Regions from separate parts of the Homo sapiens genome. Here region 1 is linked to region 2. Evidence: promoter capture Hi-C in 16 types of primary human blood cells and fetal thymus (Javierre and others, 2016). All regions are on one chromosome and are shown on one strand. Each heading gives the region's core, a stretch centred on a gene start or on the middle of the fragment in contact. The rest is flanking DNA. Distances are from core to core; before and after follow the strand shown.

Region 1 (2,700 bases), core at 42-2,541, 550 kb before region 2:
CTTGTGGTCCCAGCTACTTGGGAGGCTGAGGTGGGAGAATCACTTGAGCCCAAGGGGTCAAGGCTTCAATAAGCCAAGTTCACACCACTGCACTCCAGTCTGAGTGACAGAGTGAAACTCGGTCTCAAAAAAAAAACAAACAAACAACAAAAAAAGGCCAATGTGACTGGTAGAAAGAGCCAGGTCACAGAGCCCTGCAATCCCATCAAGGGTGTTATGTTGAGTATACTGGGGATGCGGGGGGACTAAAAGCACAGCCCTGACATGATCTGCTTTATAAACAGTAAGGCTAATTAGGAAGCTACTGAGATAGCCCAGGAAGAGAAAATGGTGGCTTGAGGTTAGAATGCCTACACCTGGACTGGGCCGAAGAAAGTTTTTATAAACATCCTTAGAAAAACCTTTGACTCCATTTACAACAGCAACCAAATGTATACAAATTTAAGAAACAGGCCATTCATGGCTAGGTGCAGTGACTCACACCTGTAATCCCAGCACTTTGGGAGGCCGAGGCAGGTAGATCACCTGAAGTCAAGAGTTCAAGACCAGCCTGACCAATATGGTGAAACCCTGTCTCTGCTAAAAATACAAAAATTAGCTGGGTGTGGTGGCGTGCACCTGTAGTCCCAGCTACTTGGGAGTCTGAGACAGAAGAATCACTTGAACCTGGAGGTTGCAGCGAGCCGAGCTCACGCCATTGCAGTCCAGCCTGGGCGACAAAGTGAGACTCCGTCTCTAAAGAGAAAGTAGGAAAGAAAGAAAGAGGCCAGTCGTAGTGGCTTATGTCTGTAATCCCTGCACTTTGGGAAGCCCAGACAGGAGGATCACTTGAACCCAGGAGTTCAAGACTAGCCTGGGCAACACAGTGAGAGCCTATCCCTACAAAAAAATTTATTTTAATTAGCCAGACACATGACATGCACCTGTAGTTCTAGCTACATGGGAGGATCACCTGAGCCCACGAGTTCAAGGCTGCAGTGAGCTATGATGGAGCCACTGCATACTAGCCTGGGTGACAGAGTAAGACTGTCTCTAAAAACAAAAATATGGAAAACAAAAAAAACACCCTATGCTATAAGCAAAGTCCAGCATTTAACATGAGATCCATGTATTCCTAGAGATGCAAGAATTGTGAACCCTGCTCTCAAGTCCATGAACCACCTGAATTATAAGCAAACTTTGTATGCCTAGATCATAACTCGTCAGAATTTCAAAGAAACTTTCACTCCAAATAATTGCATAGTGCTTCAAAGTGCAGGCCCTATGGCCAGGCACAAGTGGCTCATGCCTGTAATCCCAATCCTCTGGGAGGCCAAGACGGGGAGATCACTTGTCAGTTTGAGACCAGCCTCGCCAACATGGCAAAACCCCGTCTCTGTTAAAAATACAAAAAAATTACCCAAGCACAGTGGCACGCATCTGTAGTCCCAGCTACTAGGGAGGCTAAGGCAGGAGATTCACTTGAACCTGGGAGGCGGAGGTTGCAGTGAGCAGAGATCCCGCCACTGCCCTCCAGCCTGGGCGACAGAGTGAAACTCCATCTCAAAAAAAACAAACTAACAAAAAAAAACAAAGAACAAAGTACAGGCCCTAGAGCTTGAATACCTGGAGGTGGATTCTAGCAACACCACTTAGAATAGAACTGTATATCCACAGGAAGTTAATCTTTCTGTGCCTTGATTTCCTCATCTGTAAAATGGGGATAATAATAGTACCTAACTCATGGAGTTGCAGTGAGGGTTGAAAAGGTAATACATGGGCCAGGCATGGTGTCTCCCGCCTGTAATCCCAGCACTCTGGGAAGTGGAGGTGGGAAGATCACTTGAGGTCAGTTTGAGACCAGCCTGGCCAACACTGCAAAACCCCTTCTCTACTAAAAATACAAAAATTAGTTCCCCAGGTGTGGTGGTGGGCACCTGTAGTTCTAGCTACTCAGGAGGCTGAGGCATGAGATTCGCTTGAACCCGGGAGAGAGAGGTTGCAGTGAGCCAAGATCATACCACTGCATTCCAGCCTGGGTGACAGAGTGAGACTCTGTCTCAAAAAAAAAAAAAAAAAAAAAAAACAAAAAACAAAGGAAAAGGTAATAAGGTAATACATGCAAAGTGCTTAAAACAGACGCTGGCACATAATAAGTTATGTTGTTATTGTTACTAATAATGTTATTGTTGTTTAAAAAAACACTGCTCTAAGTTCGTGCTTAGGAAATTGGGTTTCCCCTGGTCTCAGAACACACTGTATTTAGATACCCCCTACTATGTTTCCATTTAAATCTAATCACTGCTCTAACCCAAAGACAGCAAACTTTTTCTGTAAACAACCGGAGAGTAACTATCTTACCCTTTGTGGGTCATATACCTCTCTTAACAGCCACATATCTCTGCAGCTGTAGCATAGAAGCAGCCACACACAATACATAAACCATTGTGGCTGTTTTCCAATGAAGGTGTATTTACAAAAATAGGCAAGTAGCCAGGCAAGGTGGCTCACGCCTGTAATCCCAGCACTTTGGGAGCCGGAGGCAGGCAAACCGCTTGAGGTCGGGAGTTCGAGACCAGCTTGTCCAACATGGTGAAACCCGTCTCTACTAAAAGTACAAAAAATTAGCCAGGTGTGGTGGTGCACGCCTGTAATCCCAGCTTCTCGGGAGGCTGAGGTGGGAGAATCACTTGAACCTGGGAGGCAGAGGTTGCAGTGAGC
Region 2 (2,700 bases), core at 181-2,680:
AGCAGATGAGACTGGAAATGAGTCAGGATGAGCCACAGTGGAGGATGAATTAAATGGGCAGGAGTGTGGTAGAAAGACCTGTTGGAGGCTATGAATGCAATCAAGGTGACAGACAACTGGTGCAATGATGGTAGTGGAAATGGAGGAGAGGGGATTGATTCAAGATGCATTTAGGACCAAGAATCGGGAGCTTGTGAACGTGTGTATGAGTACTGTAGACGGAGTGGGTGTGTCATCAGAGAAGATCTGAGCATTTGGGCTTGCTCTCCTCAGAGGCCCTGCGAGTGGAGTTCAGCTTTTCCTCATGGGGCAAATCTCACTTTCGCTCCAGTTCCTGGGGCTCAGAGTCCCTGGCCCAGATGCCTCTTGCCATCTCATCTTCACCCTGCCTGGCTTCCCTTGCTTGTTCCAGGATTGTTTCATAAAGAGGGATGTGGTTGGTCTTTAACCCTATGAATGCTGGCTGAGGATGCCTGCGGAACCTGTAGTGAAGCTTTCAGGGGCTGCTCGGGTTCTGGCTGGTAGGTGAACACTGTCCATCTTGCCGGCTGGGACACAGTGACTCTGGGTAGTTGTGTAAGAGAGGGGCCCTTGGCAGACAAACAGGTTCTTCTCTGTTGGTGGGCCAGCCAGCAGGTCAGTGGGAAGGTTAAAGGTCATGGGGTTTGGGAGAAACTGGGTGAGGAGTTCAGCCCCATCCCCCGTAAAGCTCCTGGGAAGCACTTCTCTACTGGGGCAGCCCCTGATACCAGGGCACTCATTAACCCTCTGGGTGCCAGGGAAAGGGCAGGAGGTGAGTGCTGGGAGGCAGCTGAGGTCAACTTCTTTTGAACTTCCACGTGGTATTTACTCAGAGCAATTGGTGCCAGAGGCTCAGGGCCCTGGAGTATAAAGCAGAATGTCTGCTCTCTGTGCCCAGACGTGAGCAGGTGAGCAGCTGGGGCAGAGGGATGGGGGTCACAGTCCTAAGGGAGGGCATTGCAGGTGGCCTCAGGGGAGAGCCTGGGGTGGCCCCTAAGACGTCCTCTTGGAACATTTTGGCAGAGTTGCCTCTTCGCCCTCATTATGGCTCAGTTTTTCCACCATGAAATGGGAGGGAGGGAGACAGGTGGGCAGGGGAGAGGTGGTAGAAGTGGCCTAGAGAACTGTTCCTGGGGTCTGGGACCTTTGCGAAGGGGTTAGAGCACCACGCTCCCTGCTATGTGACTGAGGTAGCAAGAGCACGCCCTCTTCCCATGTCTGAGGAAGACACCCTAGCCTCCTTGACTCACCTAGGTCAGTCCTCTTGAGCCCCAACAGCTCTGTGCTCCCCAGCCCAAGGAAGGGGTAACAGGATTTCGGGCAGTTGCCCCTGCAGAGGCCCCCTGGGCAAGTCCCCTGCGCCATGTCCCTTCGTCTCCTTCTTCCCCTAACCAGGCCTCCCTCCACCTGTCTTCTCAGAGCAGGTAATGGCAAGCATGGCTGCCGTGCTCACCTGGGCTCTGGCTCTTCTTTCAGGTGGGTCTCCGACCCTGACTTCAACGTGGGGGTGTGGGTGGAGGCTGGCCAGAGGGCCCTGTCCACCCTGGGGGAGGAGAGCCCAGGCCCTGATTACCTAGTCCCTCTCCACAGCGTTTTCGGCCACCCAGGCACGGAAAGGCTTCTGGGACTACTTCAGCCAGACCAGCGGGGACAAAGGCAGGGTGGAGCAGATCCATCAGCAGAAGATGGCTCGCGAGCCCGCGTGAGTGCCCAGGGGAAGGGGTGTAGGCGAAGGGAGGAGACAGCTGGGCCATGCCATGATGACCTGCCTCTGCTGCCTCAACCTCTGTGGCCGCTGCTGGGACAGAGGAAAGGAGCGGTGCTAGCTCTGTCTGCAGATCCCGGCCATCCTGGGCTCTTTAGCGCCCTCTGCCTGCAGCCCCCGCCTTGACAACTCCGTAGCTGTTGCCCCCTTGCTCACTGAGGCGCGGGACCTGGGATCAATCGGGAGGACGCCCGCTGCAGTCCCCAGAATCAAAGGATGATGTGGCGCATCTATGTTTCTTTGGAGAGTGTTGTAGGTCTGGATTTGTATGGGCAATGTGTTTGTGCTTCGTGCGTGAGTTGTTACTGGCCAGGGCTAGGACAAGAGCCCTCGACCCTGGGGCCAACGCCCTGCGTCCTTGGTTCCCCCAGAGGATCAGTGCGCGATGACTTGGGGACAAAGGAGATGATGGAGGCTAGCAGTCTGACGGCCTGGATATCTGTCCCCTTCTCCAGGACCCTGAAAGACAGCCTTGAGCAAGACCTCAACAATATGAACAAGTTCCTGGAAAAGCTGAGGCCTCTGAGTGGGAGCGAGGCTCCTCGGCTCCCACAGGACCCGGTGGGCATGCGGCGGCAGCTGCAGGAGGAGTTGGAGGAGGTGAAGGCTCGCCTCCAGCCCTACATGGCAGAGGCGCACGAGCTGGTGGGCTGGAATTTGGAGGGCTTGCGGCAGCAACTGAAGCCCTACACGATGGATCTGATGGAGCAGGTGGCCCTGCGCGTGCAGGAGCTGCAGGAGCAGTTGCGCGTGGTGGGGGAAGACACCAAGGCCCAGTTGCTGGGGGGCGTGGACGAGGCTTGGGCTTTGCTGCAGGGACTGCAGAGCCGCGTGGTGCACCACACCGGCCGCTTCAAAGAGCTCTTCCACCCATACGCCGAGAGCCTGGTGAGCGGCATCGGGCGCCACGTGCA

What was found. Contacts are between HindIII fragments. The CHiCAGO score rates a contact against its expected background, and 5 or more counts as called.
Region 1: a contact is called between a fragment that was not itself captured here and the fragment with the promoter of APOA5 in region 2, in 1 of 17 cell types (naive CD4 T cells). The highest score is 6.5, in naive CD4 T cells.

Annotation. Positions count from the first base shown.
Region 1 is chr11:117,338,888-117,341,587 of GRCh38, reverse strand. All of the region lies in intron 3 of CEP164 (centrosomal protein 164), which reads right to left. Among named protein-coding and RNA genes, the nearest start is that of CEP164, 12 kb to the right of the region's middle. The HindIII fragment of the contact is 3,559 bases long and covers 1-2,700 here.
Region 2 is chr11:116,790,609-116,793,308 of GRCh38, reverse strand. It overlaps APOA5 (apolipoprotein A5), which reads left to right and starts at 1,430. Exons shown (of 3, transcript NM_001371904.1): 1 at 1,430-1,497; 2 at 1,612-1,723; 3 at 2,242-2,700. The coding sequence starts at 1,449. The HindIII fragment of the contact is 6,000 bases long and covers 496-2,700 here.